Linked DNA regions of Homo sapiens: regions 1, 2, 3 and 5 are each linked to region 4. The links are contacts of gene promoters, found by promoter capture Hi-C in blood cells and fetal thymus (Javierre and others, 2016). All regions are on one chromosome and are shown on one strand. Each heading gives the region's core, a stretch centred on a gene start or on the middle of the fragment in contact. The rest is flanking DNA. Distances are from core to core; before and after follow the strand shown.

What was found. The method cuts DNA at HindIII sites, captures the fragments that hold promoters and counts their contacts. A CHiCAGO score of 5 or more calls a contact.
Region 1: the fragment with the promoter of RAB22A here is called in contact with the fragment with the promoter of RTF2 in region 4 in 1 of 17 cell types (total B cells); the score reaches 5.5 in total B cells.
Region 2: a contact is called between a fragment that was not itself captured here and the fragment with the promoter of RTF2 in region 4, in 1 of 17 cell types (M0 macrophages). The highest score is 5.1, in M0 macrophages.
Region 3: a contact is called between a fragment that was not itself captured here and the fragment with the promoter of RTF2 in region 4, in 1 of 17 cell types (monocytes). The highest score is 8.2, in monocytes.
Region 5: the fragment with the promoter of VAPB here is called in contact with the fragment with the promoter of RTF2 in region 4 in 1 of 17 cell types (neutrophils); the score reaches 6.1 in neutrophils.

Annotation. Positions count from the first base shown.
Region 1 is chr20:58,308,252-58,311,097 of GRCh38, forward strand. It overlaps RAB22A (RAB22A, member RAS oncogene family), which reads left to right and starts at 1,464. Exons shown (of 7, transcript NM_020673.3): 1 at 1,464-1,761; 2 at 2,792-2,846. The coding sequence starts at 1,726. It also overlaps the pseudogene PPP4R1L. RefSeq lists silencers at 933-1,492, 1,533-1,862. The HindIII fragment of the contact is 7,008 bases long and covers 1-2,296 here.
Region 2 is chr20:57,475,442-57,478,463 of GRCh38, forward strand. No RefSeq gene overlaps it. Among named protein-coding and RNA genes, the nearest start is that of CTCFL, 48 kb to the right of the region's middle. RefSeq lists an enhancer at 861-1,361. The HindIII fragment of the contact is 7,583 bases long and covers 1-3,022 here.
Region 3 is chr20:57,709,359-57,712,393 of GRCh38, forward strand. PMEPA1 (prostate transmembrane protein, androgen induced 1) reads right to left here and starts at 657. Exons shown (of 4, transcript NM_020182.5): 1 at 116-657. The coding sequence starts at 224. NKILA (NF-kappaB interacting lncRNA) reads left to right here and starts at 825. Exons shown (of 1, transcript NR_131157.1): 1 at 825-3,035. RefSeq lists silencers at 489-918, 939-1,058 and an enhancer at 2,711-3,035. The HindIII fragment of the contact is 308 bases long and covers 1,560-1,867 here.
Region 4 is chr20:56,467,189-56,470,048 of GRCh38, forward strand. It overlaps RTF2 (replication termination factor 2), which reads left to right and starts at 1,439. Exons shown (of 9, transcript NM_016407.5): 1 at 1,439-1,578. The coding sequence starts at 1,510. The HindIII fragment of the contact is 9,363 bases long and covers 450-2,860 here.
Region 5 is chr20:58,387,828-58,390,942 of GRCh38, forward strand. It overlaps VAPB (VAMP associated protein B and C), which reads left to right and starts at 1,402. Exons shown (of 6, transcript NM_004738.5): 1 at 1,402-1,690. The coding sequence starts at 1,633. RefSeq lists silencers at 1,111-1,550, 1,811-1,930. The HindIII fragment of the contact is 12,509 bases long and covers 1-3,115 here.

The DNA of each region.
Region 1 (2,846 bases), core at 214-2,713, 1.8 Mb after region 4:
TCCATGGTAAGTTTTCAGTAAACACCAACTCTTACTATTAGGAAACCTGAAGATGTGGAATGAAAGATGAGAGGAAGTACTGTATATGACTGGCGTACAGTACGCCCCCAATTAATGTTAGCTATTTGGATGATTTATATAGGGCTTCTTCACCAGCAAGCACTCCGGTGCTCGGTAATTTTCTGTTTACAAGTAGGCTCTCCCCACACCCTGTGAGCTCCCTGCGTGTAGAGCTGTTTTCAACACATCCTTGCAGGTTCGGAGCCCAACACGTGGCCCCCAGAGCAAATAGCTGCTCAGTAAGTTTCTTGACAGGAGAGAAAACGCTTCCTTCCTTCACCAGAAATGCGAACTTGGATTTCTAAGATGACACCTCCCCCAGCTACCAGCCCTTAACATGATTCCAAAAAAGAGGGCAAGAAGGGACAAGGGTCCCACCCAAGAAATGCGGGGGCCAATGGGCTCCATGGGATAAGAGATGGAGCCGGGCTTGTGGCCAGGACACTTGAGAAGTCCGTGCAACTCCGTGACCGGCCACACCGAGAGGGGGACCTCCCAAACCCCCCAGCAGTCCTAAAAAGTCCCTAGGAAAAGGGCAAGGCCCTGAGAGGGAAGTCACCCACCTCCCAGGTGGCGGACCCCCCGCCCGCCCAGGGTCGACTAGGACTTGGGACTACCCCCTCCGCCCATCCCACGGCAGCTGCAGGCGCAGGAAGAAAAGAAGTGACAGGGAGTCCAAAGTTTCCCCAACAACAAAAATCCTTCCCCCGAGGGAAGGGAAGGGCTCCCACCCTCAGCCCGCCCCGCCCAGGGAGGAGGGACCGCCACCAGTGGATCTAGGCAGTTGGGGGTCCCGCTGTTCTGGTCCCGACAAGGAGTGCCTGGCTTGAGGTTCCCCCGCCCCGCGCTTCGTGCACTCTGAATTCTTTGAGAGGGTCCCAGGGAGGGACAGGGGTGCCCCAACTCTTACTTACAGTCGTCTAAGTCATCCTGCAAGTCCACAAAGTACAGGGGGATCTCTGAAAACCAAGAAACACACAAGAAGTTACCAGGGGGCTGCGGCGAGAGGGGACGGGGTCGGGCAGGGGCCCCTCGGCCTCGCGGGGTGGTCACGGGGCGAGAGAGAGAGGGGCACCCCTGGCATCCCCCGAGCCCAGCCCCACTCACCCGCCATCTTGGGATGGGCATGGAGGCGGGACCGGCAGGGGCGGGGCCCTGCAGACAGGGGCGGGGCCCTGCAGACAGGGGCGGGGCCCTGCAGACAGGGGCGGGGCCCTGCAGACAGGGGCGGGGCCCTGCAGACAGGGGCGGGGCCCTGCAGACAGGGGCGGGGCCCTGCAGACAGGGGCGGGGCCCTGCAGACAGGGGCGGGGCCGTCGGCTTCGGGCCCCGCCCCCGATCCGCGCCGGCCGGCCGGCCCCGCCCTCTCAGCGAAGGTGGCTGCCGAGGTGGGCGGGGAGGTCAGGTGACGCGGCCGGCGTCCCAAGATGGCGGCGGCGGCGGCTCCCGGAAGGCCGCGGCGGCGTCCCGGCTGCTAAGGCGGGCCCCACGCGGCTGGCAGCGGACAGGCCGGACCTACGGCCGGAGGACGGGCGGCAGCCGCCTCTGCGCGGACCGGGGCTGGGCCGTGCGGCGGCAGCGGCGCCAGGGGATGCTCTTGCTGGGCCTGGCCTCTCCCTTCTCAACTTAGGGCGGCGGCGGGCCCGCGCCCCTGGCTCCCGGGCCATGGCGCTGAGGGAGCTCAAAGTGTGTCTGCTCGGGGTGAGTGGCGGCGGGTCCGGCCGGGAGGGCCACGGGAGGCTGGGCTGGCGGGGACCCCGGATCCCCCCTGTCCCCTCATCCCTTCCCCCCTCCCACGTCCAAGACGCTGTCTGCCAGCCCCGTGGACCCTCCCTCCAGCTCGGGAGCCGTCCCGCCCACCTCTTGCACTCTCGAAAAGGTCCTGGAGGCCGAAGGGACCCTTCCCCTTCCCCTCCCTGGAGCCCGTGGACTCTTCCCGCCCCACAAAGAGCAAACAGCCCCCCCTTGCCTCTCTATTGCATCTGGGTTAAGAGAGGTTCTTAAATAGTTTTCTCCCAACTTACCAAGGTATTAGTTGGGAGTTGGCCAAGTCTTCCAAAGTAAAACCAATAACAGGTCTTTAGGTTTTACAAGCAGCATTAGCCTACTTTGTCTCTTGGGTGTTTTTGAACTTGTGGGATACCCCTGCCACTTGTCCAAAGAGTTACTTTGCCAAGTAACTCTTCCTGTGGAGAAAAGGGGTGTTCAAATCAGGAAGCCCCAAAGACTAGTTTGAAGCTTCAGCTTCCTGTCTTGTCAGGAAAGACAAGGTGTTGGCCATTTCAAAGCCTTCTTTCTGAAATTGATGCTGTCATTCCAGAGTTTCTGCCTTAAAGATCGGCAGGAACTCCAATAACTAATCTTTATTCCCCCAAATAGGGTGGGGCTAGGATTCATCAGGGATTACTCAGAGGTAACTCAGGAGTTCAAAGTTTACTAACATATGTTAAAAAGCAAGTGGACTTGTTACTTTTTACACGAAGCAGAAACTTTGGGTCTCTCAAAAGGTCCTAATCTGTCTTAACGGCAAAAACCTCTCCCTTTTAGTACAGTTGGAATTTCCTAATTACTCTACTGAATTTTTATGACAACCGCTTTTGTGTTCCTCCGTTTATAAAATTTACACGTCTAGGGTGATTTTTCTAAAATCCTGAACTTATGCCACAAAGTAGTTTTTGGTGTCTGCCAAAAGGTAAACTTTTTCTCAGTCCCTCATCTCGTTCTCTTTCAGGATACAGGTGTAGGTAAATCGAGTATTGTGTGGCGGTTTGTGGAAGACAGTTTTG
Region 2 (3,022 bases), core at 395-2,894, 1.0 Mb after region 4:
AAAAAGAAACGGGATTCTCCTGGCATATTTTTCTTTCCTATAAAAATGAAGTCCGGGGCAGCATTCCAGGGCCAGGAGGAGGTTCCACAAAGTCTTTAGGGTGACTCATGACTCTGCCATCCTCAGGGTCCAAAATTATTGCGTGAGCTCCAGCCATCACATCTTCTTTCCAGCCAGGAAAAAGGAAGGAACAGAGAAGGATGTCCCCTGTTCCTTTAAAGAACACTTGAGAAAACTTCTGCTCACCTCCCTGTTTCACGTGGCCATACCTCACTGCAAGGAAAATGTAGTCTTTATTCTGGGTGGCCATGCAACCCCCTGAAAACTGGGGGTCTTACAACTAGGGCAAGAGAGGGCAAGAGTGGATACTGCTGTAGTCTACTCAATCAGATCTGTTCCGGCCACGGGGAGGAGCTGAATGGAACAGCATCATTCCATTTAAGGCAATTGGCTATGCGTTCTTGGACAAGTCACCTGATCCTTCTGGGCCTCTTTTTGCTCATCTGACTAACTAAAATCAGATTAAAAGGTTTTTAGAGTCTCCTTCAGTAGAATCCTTCTATGGGTCTAAGAATTGTCTCATTTTTAGCCATAGACCATATCAAGATGTAGAGACACTGGTGGGTACTGCCTGAGTGTGGTATCTTCTGTGTCAGACTGACCAGGCTTCAGGTCCTGTGGGGCCTGGGAAACGTCCTTCCTCCTCTGAGCCGGGTCCCTCCTGCTGGCCAGACTCGGATGAAGTGACTGTAAAGTTCCCAGCTTGCCACTCAGCAACTCTAGCAACACCAGCAAATTACTAACATTCTATTAATAAAAACGACAGAGGAAATGCACCTGTTTCCTATTGCTGCTGTAACAAATGCCCACAAAGGTAGTGACTCAAACACCACACATTTATTCCCCTCCAGTTCTGGAGGCCAGAAGCATGAAATAGACTCACAGGGCTGAGGGCAAGGTGTCTGCCGGGCTGTGTTCCTCTGTTTCCTACCCACTTGGGCGCTGGCAGAATTCAGGTCCCAGGGCTGGAGGAATGACCTCTTTGGAGGCTCAGTAAAGAGCTCCTGGGATTATATTAGGCAACAGGTTGGATTCAGTTTTAGGAACAGAATTGCCATTTGGAAATTATGCTCCAAATTCTGCTAGATCTGAATTTTTTGAAGTAGCCAGTGCAGACACAGAAGGGCAGCTGTGAGCTGGGGTCCCAAGGAAACTTCAGAAAGCCGTGTCCATAGCATCTTCCTTCCGTGGATCCCGAGGAGACCTCTGGGCCCGTCCGGGCTTCCCCCCGCCCAGCTTCAGCCGTTGTGGTTTCAGGCCCGCGGGGGGTCCCTGCCTCCCTAGATTGTCTCTGTCCCGCTCCCAAGGCCATTCACTCTTTCTGGCACTCACATCCCCAGACACGCCCCCTCCCACCCAAGGCCCAAGCAAGTGCCTCACAGCCCTGATCCCAGCCGCAACAGAGGACAGAGTGGAATCTGGGAGTTAAACACCAAATGGCCAAGGGTGGTTTTCCACTGAGACCTAGAGCCGAGGGGGCCATCAGCACCCGTTCTCTGAAGGCGGCTGGGGCAGATCCAGGGCAGTCGAGCAGGTGGACTCTGGCATCACCCTGCCCAGGCTCAAATCCCAGCTCCATCTTTGAGCTGTGTGACCTGGGATATGTTTCTTAACTTCTCTGTGCCTTGCTTTTGACATTTGTAAAAGGTGGATCATGATGGCATTTTCCTCCCAGGACAGGTATGAAGATTACAGATGAAATCAATCCAACATAATTGGTATAAACCACTTGGCTTAAGGGGTGCCTGGGACATCCACAGGGGCTCTGGTAACTGCGATTCCTGTTATGACCATGACAGGTGACAGCAGAAGGCCCCACCCAGCTCCCACCTCAGTTGTATAGACTGTGGGCTCTGCTTGGCCATGTGTGTTGTGGGGAAGGAGACCCTGTTTTCTCCTGCCTTTGCAGTCCCATTCTCTTTCCTAAGGATTCTCTTTTCCTTCTTTTTTTTTTTTCTTGAGTCAGTCTCGCTCTGTCACTCAGGCTGGAGTGCAGTGGCACGATCTTGGCTCACTGCAACCTCCACCTCCTGAGTTCAAGCTATTCTCCCTGCCTCAGCCTCCTGAGTAGCTGAGATTACAGGCACGTGCCACCACACCCGGCTAATTTTTGTATTTTTAGTAGAGACGGGGTTTCACCATGTTGGCCAGGATGGTCTTGAACTCCTGACCTCAAGTGCTCCGCCCTCCTCAGCCTCCCTTCTCTTTTCCTTTTACAGCCCTTCTGAGATGTCTCTTCTTCGGCGTTTCATTCACTCCCCGCGGCACCCTGGATGCCTGTTCACAGCTCGGTCCAGATTTCTAGAGCTGCTTTTAAAGGGCAGCTGCCACCCAGTGTTGCTCCCTGTATTCCCAGGTCCCCTTGCAGCCGCAGTGAGCTTGTCCCCATTCTGTAGACGGCAATAATCATAATAGTATTAGTAACAATGATGATAGGAAACATTTGCTTACCACTAATTAAATACGAGGGTCTGTACTAAGCCGGTGTCCCTGTATTATCTCACTTCAAGATCTCCGGGGTCACAGAGGCAGCCTGTTTCCAGAGACAGTAACTGAGGCACGGAGAGAGGATGAGGAAATGAAGCTGGGAGACGGTGACTAGCTTGGTGTTCCTTACAAATGGGAGGTGGTGGCTGGAATAGGCCAGGCTGGCCTGACTCAGAGTCCAGCTCTAACTTCTGTCACCAGATTTAAATGGGATTCTGGAGTTTTAATTTTCCCCAAGCAGACGCTTCCTCCTTAACGTCACGATTTCCACACGTGCTGGACACATTTGGAGGTGGACAGAGATGAGGCAAAATTAAACTTTTTCGAGTTGAGTCTGGTTACTCTGGGTAGAGGATCTTGCAAAACCACCTTGCTTTGCTGGGAGAGACTTTGGTCGTGAAAGATAAATGTTCTGCCGTCTGAATCAGAGGTAGGACGCCCCATGCTGCGAATTGTGGCTGCTTAGAAATATTAC
Region 3 (3,035 bases), core at 464-2,963, 1.2 Mb after region 4:
CAGGGCGTTCGGTCCGAGGGGGCGCGCAGGGCCCGGACCCCCGCTCGCAGCTGTGCCCCGACATAGGGTCCGAGCCCGATGGAGTCTCCGGGGAGGGGGGCGTGGGGTCACTCACTGATCTCCATGCTCTGGAACAAAGAGCGTTTGCAGTTGCACGTGCAGGAGACATTGGGCTGCCCGGCGGCGGCGGCGGCGGTGCTGTTGACCCCCATCAAGCGGTGCATGGACGGCGCGGCGGCGCGGCGCGGGGCGCGGGGGGCTCGGGGGCGGCCGGGGGGGGCTCCGGCCGGCGCCCGGAGCTGGGGCCCCGCATGCAGGAGGCGCGCGGCGGGGGAGGCGCGCCCCGGCTCGCCGGGCTCGGGTCGCCGCCAAGTTCCCGGGGCGCCGCGGGGCTCAGTGCGCGGGACCGCGCTCCGCTGCGCCCCCCCGGCCTCCCCTCGGCAGCCCCGGGGGCGTCGGCAGTGCCCGCGGGTGGCGTCCGGAAAATGGGCTGGCAGCGGGGCGCGCGCTGCCGCCGGGGCTGAGCCTCTGCCGCTAGCTTTCCCCAGCCGAGCGCCTCCGCCGCCGCCGCCGCCGCCGCCTCCTCCTCCTCATTCAAGTCCAAGGAGATCGGGTTTCGCTCCGAGACCGCGGTCGGAGGCAGGCAGACGGTCTGACGTCAGCGCTAGACGGGGCTGCCGGTTCCCACCGCGCGGGGGCCGGGGAGGGGGCGCGCGCTGCGCCAATCCCCGCCGAGGTTCCCCCGCACCCCCTCCCCGAGCCGGGGGGCGGGGTGACGGGAAACGGGGCGGGCTCTTAAAGGGCCAGAGCTAGGCGGCCCACGTAGACCCGGCACCCGCGCAACGGAGGAGGGGCGCTGTGCCCTCTCCCCAACGGCGGTCAGCTTGGAACGCCTGCCCGGCGCACGCCCGGGGCCGGGGAGCCGAACTCGGTGCCAGCCGCACCCGGGCGGGTTGCTGGTGCGCCCTCCCCTCGCCCCCGTCCCTGGGGTCCTTGACCCAGGCTCTTGGGGCTAGCCTATCTTCTGAGGAGCACAAGGTCCCTGGGGGCTCAGGGAAGAGAAATTGGAGAAAGGGGGAGGAAGCCCCCAAGATGGATCACCCATTGCCTGGTTTCGCAGGAGACTGTCCGCCTTCAGTTCTCCAGCAGCTCGGGGATCATGGCCCACTGAACCCCCAAGCGCTTTCACCCGAACCCAAGGAGGACGACCAGGAAAGACGGGAACTCGCGTAGACACGCCCGGAAGCCCTTGTCATGTAAATAGCTGTCGGGGACTGGTGTATTGTCGCCGCCCCAGCCGGCGGGACCTGGGGCGAATCCACACCCATTGTCTGCTGCCCAAGGGGCCTCCGGCTGGGGGGCGCGGCTGCGGAGTTCAAAAGGGGTATGAGCAGGAGGGGTGTACTTTTAGTTCATTAAGTTTTAATTACAGGAGTGCTACAAGAACACATTCTTCAGGTTTAAAAAGATATTAAAATATTACATAAGAGACCTCCCCTCCCTGGCCCACCTCCAGCCTCTTAAAAATTTAGTGTGTCGCCTTTTAGACACTTTCTCAAAGCTTCACTTATTTAACAGGCACTTAAGGAGCACCTACCTGTGCCAGAAACTCTCCAAATATTAACTCAACCTGACACCGACTCAGTGTGGCCGAATATTACTCTCCCCATTTTACAGAGCGGGCAGCTGGTCAAGGAAGTCGCTTGTTGAAAGTCACACAGTGGTGGAGCCTGTGTGCCAACCCAGGACCCTGGGGAGCTGCCTCCCCCTCTCCCACGTAGTCCTGATTCTTTAAGTGTCCACATATTCCTGTAATGCCTGGAGTTTCAGTAATTAGCAGGGACTTAGTGTGTTCAGAGAAAAAAAAAGCTTTTAAAAATTATTGTTACTGTGTTTGTAACAGTTTGGATAGAGAAGGAAAAGCTGGAATTTGGGAAGTGAAGGTGGCCTCGGGGTAGAACTTACCTAGACCAGAGCGAATTCATCCTGAAGAACTCAGAGAAAGCCGGTGCAGGAAGTGGGTTCCCGCTCTCCCTGCACAGGCACAGTGATGCTGCCAGAGCTCTCCCAGAAAGACCAGGAGGCTTGTTCTGGAGAAGTCAAGCCCAGGGATGTGGCTCAGGCTGGTCCAAGCTCTTTGGAGGAGTCCAAGCGTGCCCAGCCCAGAGGGAGGTTCAGAGGCACTGACCGTCTTCTGTTTGGGAGGAGAAGCTCACTCTTGGAGCCACAGCCAGCACTAGGTCAGGACCCAGGCCCCGGCCCAGGAGTGGGGCAATACCCAGCGTCTACCCCAGATGGCACCCTGCTGTGAACTGGGCGCCCTCAGCCCCTGCCTTGAGGAAGGGGCAATACCACCAGCGTGTCTTTTATCAGGGAAGATATTGCTGCAGTTTGGCCGCTGCAACTTAAGAGAAAAGCTAAGGGGTCCCCCAGCATCCCTTGGGGTGCCACTGCAAATACTGGCTGGGCCTGGAGATGACCTGGGTCCCATTCACTTCCTAGGGTGAAGGAGGTCATCATTACCACCCCTGCTTTCAGCCATTTCTTCATTCATTCAATCAACAAACTGGCTGAGCTGCAACCCTGAGCCGGGGAATTCAGCCACTCCAGACACAGCCCCTGCCCTCCGGGAAGTCTCGGGAGACCTGGCTAGTCTGGCTGGGAGAAGTCACACGTTGATTGTCTTGGAAGTGAGATGGCATTTACACAATGGAGGCTGCACTGCCAGCAGGCAAAAATAACCAGTTAATTCAGTGGCTTAAAGAAACCAAACCTACCCACAACGCTTGACCTCCCATTGATCCATCTGCGACACCGGCAGTGGCTACCATTTATTGAGTGCTGATGGTGTCACCTGGGATTGACTTAGTGGTCTCTGGCGCTAGTTCCGAAGTTGATTCTGTCTGGAGAGCTTAATGCAGTGTTCAGACCTCAGGGTCCGAACCTGAGGGTCACCCAAAGATGAGTGGGACATAGCTGTGTGACCTCGGCTGAGTGCTTTCACCTCTCCAACCTCAGTTTCCTCTTCTGCAAAA
Region 4 (2,860 bases), core at 189-2,688:
AGAGCTTACAGTTATTGTGGTTAGCATAGAAATAAATCATAAATCAATCAGAGACCAACTAATTAAAGGGATTATTTTTTAAAATTCTCATTAATCACAGTAACAAGTACCCCAAGCTTACATATAGCCCTTGAAGTTTCCACATCCACGTATTTTCTGGGCAACTCTTCCCAAGTAAAAAATATTTTCAGCGTTTTTATGTTTCACGTAGGTCAATAGGGTAATATCCAATCATAAAGATCTGCCTTCTTGGCAATGGAGAAATTTTCCCATCATATATATGTACAAATACATACATACATACATACATACATATTAATGACAGAGTCTTGCTCTGTTGCCTAGGCTGGAGTGCAGTGGCATAATCATAAGCTCACTGCAACCTTGAATTCCTGGGCTCAGGCAATCCTTCCTACCCCCTCAGCCTCCGGAGCCGCTAGGACTACAAAAGCTTACCACAACGCCTGGCTAATTTTTCTTTTTCTTTCAAGATGGTGTCTCACCATGTTGTCCAGGCTGACCTGGAACTCCTGGGCTCAGGTGCTCCTCCCGTCTCGGCCTCCCAAAGTGCTGGGATTATAGGCACTTTCCCATAATATTTATAATAATTAAAGGAACAAACAGAGAGATAGACAATCGCCTAAGAGCAGACAGACAATCATGAATTTTTAGCAAGGGATTTGTGTTCTTATAGATAAAATACAGCCTGACTCTTGGAACGGGCATGGCAACATCAGTGTATATTTTATAAGAACTATTATATCGTCTATTAATGATACTTGATTGTTAATAAAATTTTTTTAGCCTGGGCTTCAGGAAACTGTGAATGAAATACACACACGCACAAACTGTATGCAAAATTTCACACACATGCCATCTACAATATGCATGGCAACACCAGAAAGTTCCAGGCCTTAAGGGAGGGTCTTACTTCCTAGAATCTGTTGTAACATCACTTCACAAGATTTGTTGTGAGTGCTTGAGTCACAGTTGGCGCTCAAGAAAGATGCGTTCTCCTTTTAAACACAAAAATGTCCATTGATACAGCAGATTCCGTTCATAGGCATCCTTAATCGCAGAAACAGGAGGGCGGCCCTTTTCCTCAAGGCGCTCTCAGTCCAGGGATGTGCCCGCTCCGCAGCCACACAAGCTGGCGTGGGATAGGGTCAAAGAGCGGTGGATGCGCACGGGCCGCCCACGCCCTCGCTGCCCTCCCGGAGCGTGGGCGAGTGATTCCGATTGTGCAGCAGAAACCCAGGGTCTCACGGGAACGAGGAAACCCGCCCACGCCCAGCCTCCAAGCGACGCTCTCCATGACAACCGGCACTTGGTAACGGCCTCGCCCTGCCCCGCTACGCCGCGCCTAGCGTGCCGCCCCGCCCCGCCCCGCTACGCCACGACCAGCGTGCTGCGTCACGGCGGTGCGCCGGAAGTGGCTGCGGATTTCGCCGGAAATCCCGGAAGTGACAGCTTTGGGGGTTTGCTGCTGGCTCTGACTCCCGTCCTGCGATGGGTTGCGACGGGGGAACAATCCCCAAGAGGCATGAACTGGTGAAGGGGCCGAAGAAGGTTGAGAAGGTCAGTGATGTGGGCCGGCTCTTGGCGACCGGGGGTGGTGGGAATTTGACGACCCCAGAAAACGAGAGGAAGTAAGAAGGGGGAGCCAGCGGAGTTCCAGACCTGGCTGCGGTCTTTTATTCCATTCAGAGGACTCAAAATTAACAACAGTATTAAGAGTGGACATTCAATGGGTGCTGACTATTGCCATTCACTGGACAGTAATCTTAACAGGGGGTATCTCATGTAATTATCACAATAGCCCTATAGCTACATACTGTTGTCCTCATTTTCAGACATGGAAGTTGAGGCTCAAAAGGAGAAATTTGCAAAGCTAGTAAATGGCAGAGCCAGGATTTGAACCCTACCTGCGACTAGTAGCAATAATACAAATACCTAGTGTATACTGAGTTTTGTATACACTAACTTCATTTGCTCAGAGAAGCCTTCCCAAACTGTTCCCTTACCACATCCTTTTATAAACTGTCTTAGCCTGCACACGGCTGTACGTGGTTGATTTGTATCAAGTCTTCCCCGCTAGACGGTAAGTTCCTGATAGCAGAGGCTGTACCCTTTTTTTCTCTGCAACTAGCATGGTTCCTGGCACACTAAATATTTCGAATAAACAAATGAGTGAATAATCCCTGATCTCACAAGTAATCGAGGAAATTATAATAATTTCTTTGCTACTGACGGGGACATTGAGTCCAGGGATATTAAGGTGACTAAGATCACACAGCTGGTAGGTAGTGAAGCCAGGATTCCCATCCACTTATTTGGGATTTCAAAGTTAGCACAAGTAATTACTTTTTAATGATAAAATATTTGTAAAGCACCTAGTAGAGACTTCTTTACAAAAATATTTGTAAAGCACACGTGGAGACTTCATGTATTCTGATTCAGGAGCTGGAGAGCTTGTTTAAAAGGTAAACCCCTTAAGTCACTATTGTATTTGAAGCATTCCAGTGGCTTCCCATCACATTAAGAATAAAATCTCGTCAGACCCTTGAGCAGACCTTGCCTATGTTTCTGACCTCATCTTCTGCCCCTCTCCACCTCTTTCATACTGTTCTAGCTAAACAGGCCTCTTGTTCTTCAACCTGGAGTGTGAGTTCATCAATCTGAAATACTCTTCACTGAGATTGTCACATGATGAGTTTCTTTACTTCATTCAGTTTTTTACTCAAATGTCATCTGTCCACTGTAACTGAAATGTGCCTCACTTCCAATATTCTCTCTTCTCTTCTTAACAGTGCCTACCACTGTGTTGTTTATTGTCTCTTTCCCACGTAGACAGGAACCT
Region 5 (3,115 bases), core at 152-2,651, 1.9 Mb after region 4:
GTGGCAAAGGTTAAACTTAACATACACTACATTAAGGTGTATAATTTAGAGGATGGGTGATTAAAGTACTCCAAAGTCTTTATATTTTAAGGAAACAGGGTAAAGACATTTTTACAAATATTTAAAGATATTGGACTTTCACAAGGTAAGTATGCATGCCCAAAAGTTTGAAGTAACCACTAAAACTTAGAAATAGAGTATACAGGTGAAGAAAATCAGAATGAGAATAAAAATAAACCCTAAAGAAGAAAGGAAAGGGGAAAAAAACCAGGCAGGACAAATAGAAATAACAAAATACAATGGTAGAAATAATTCCAGATATATCAGTAAATATAATAAATGTAAATGGACTAAATGCTCCAGTTAAAATACAAAGACTATTCTTTTAAAAAACCTTTTTATCATGAAAAATTTCAAGTATACAGCAAAGTGGGAGAAACAGTACAAGAAAACCATATACCTGCGATGTAGAGTCAGCCATTGCTAGCAATTTGCCACATTTGTCTCACCTATATGGGTATGTATAGGAGACTATTAAGAACACCTATTTAACTTCCATAGTAAACATAATATAATGAAATACAATTTAAACGGTAATCATGATGTAGAGTATCCACTTTTGAGGTCAAGCAGATCTGGATTCTCCAGCAATTTTTAATTATTTAACTTACGTGTGTGGTTATTTATTCAAAAGATGTCTCTTCACTAGGCTATAGTAAAAGGATTGGAATCAGGTTCGCTTTTCTGATCATTGTATTTCTAAATATTTGTTGCATAAACAAATAGAATTTACTAGTAAAGAATTCAGCACAGTGCCAGTTGCATAGTAAACATTTAACGTAGAGTAGCTTGTATTTATTGTAGTTGCTGTTGTTATTGGAAGCATTCAGTAGAGTGATACAAAATAAATAAGCAATAATTGGTAGTTTATTATATTTATAATTATTATTTACAAGACGTCACAGTGCCTAGCCCATATCACTCACCCATAAACATTATACTTATACTAAGTACTTTCACTATTATTCAAAGTCTCTAACAGTGCCTGGCACTACATAAGCAAGAGAAAAGTGGAAGTTTATTCTAATTGTTATTATTGAATAAAGCACTTAACACGAAGCTGGCCCCCAGCGGGCCCTTAATAGTTTCCGCGGTGGCTGTCGTAGCTGGACTACAGACCCCGCCTCCTGAGCGGCCCGAAGCCCCGCCCCTTACTGCCCCGCAGTCCCGCCCCCGTGGCTTGTGCCGCGCCTGCGCACTGTCCCGGAAGGGGCTCTACGCGCGCAGCTTTAGTCCCCGCCCCTGGAGCCGGCGGCGCAGGGCGCAGCTTCCCGCCGCCAGAGCGGGCCAGCCTGCTGCGTGCGTGCGTGTGTACGACTCTGCGTGCGTGCGTGCGTGCGTGCGTGCCGTCAGCTCGCCGGGCACCGCGGCCTCGCCCTCGCCCTCCGCCCCTGCGCCTGCACCGCGTAGACCGACCCCCCCCCAGCGCGCCCACCCGGTAGAGGACCCCCGCCCGTGCCCCGACCGGTCCCCGCCTTTTTGTAAAACTTAAAGCGGGCGCAGCATTAACGCTTCCCGCCCCGGTGACCTCTCAGGGGTCTCCCCGCCAAAGGTGCTCCGCCGCTAAGGAACATGGCGAAGGTGGAGCAGGTCCTGAGCCTCGAGCCGCAGCACGAGCTCAAATTCCGAGGTAAGCCCCAGAGGCCGCCACCTTCCTGCCCGCGGCCTCCGCCCCAGTGCTGGAAGGACGGAGCCCGGCGCGGCGGGTGACGTCGGCCCTCGTCCCCACCCCGACGGCGCTGTCGCGGGGGGCGGCGAGGCCGGGCCGGGCCTTGGCGCTCGCCGCGCTCCCCAGAACTGCCCGGAGTGGCCGGGACCCGAGAGGGCTGGTGCGGGAGCCGGGGCCTGCGCCTCCTCCCCGACCCCCAGCCTCCTGGGACTTGCCTTCGAGGCACTTGTCACTTTGTAACTTACCAGTTTGTGATCCTCTCTAGTGTGAGCCTCCGCCGCTGCCTTTGCCTAGAAGTTTCTTCCCCTGCTCCGTGACAGTGTTGACCTCAGGGCTTAGTTGAGGTGTCAGCTGCTCAGAGAGGCCTGCTGTGACCACCCAGCCACCGTGCACACCTGCTGTCATTCCCTATTCCGTCACTGTTTCGTGGTCAGCACGGCACTTTTCATACCCAAAATCACTGTTTCAATACTAGAAGGGAAACTGCATGAGGACAGGCTCTTGTCAGTTCGCTGCTGTGTACCCAGCACACATTATACGCCTAGTAAATAAATACCTGTTGAACCAACAGATGAACATGTTGAACCAACAAATGAACCTCCTCAGGACTTCTGATGGGATTGGGCCCATTTTCCTTTCACTGCGTCCCTCATGCTGTCTCCTGGTTGCGGTGCAAGGAGGCTGCCACGGTGCTGGGATCCTTTTTCTCCGCAGAGCTGTCTGGAGCAACACCTGCGGCGATGGGAAGCCATGACCCTGGTTTCTCCCAGATACTATTACCTCTGTAATTTGTGCCTTTATGTTTTCTATGTTGTTACTTTTGTTTTTTTTTTTTTTTTCCTACCTTCACCAGGGCCACGAGGTAAAAGTTCTTGTCTGACATGCTCATTCTTTCTTTTTGCGTGTATCCAGTGATGTGGGAGGCTCTGGGGAGGTGATGGATGCACAAGACAGATAAGGCCTCTGCTCTCACAGAGCTTACCTTCCGACGAGGACAGACAAACCAACACACAAGATCATTGCAGATAGTGCTAAGTGCTGTGTAGGAAATGGAACAGTCTGACTCCATGGAAGCGTACTTTAGATTGGAAGGCCGGGTCTCCACTATATCGCTAGCACCGGACTCACAGTAGATGCTCAGTTGGTATTTATGAATGAATGAATGGCCAGAGGCTCTCCAGTTTATATGTCCTATTGGGAAGTAGTGTAGGGTAACTTACCCAAAGTTACCCAGTTGGCAAATGGTACATTTGAACCCAGACTTCAGAGTTCACGCTCTTAACCGTTTTGCTGTCTGATCGCTGGGAAATACTCCAGAACGGTGGCTGTCACTTTGCCTTCCAAGTTAACAATGTGAAATAACTCTGAATTTACAGAGAACCAAAG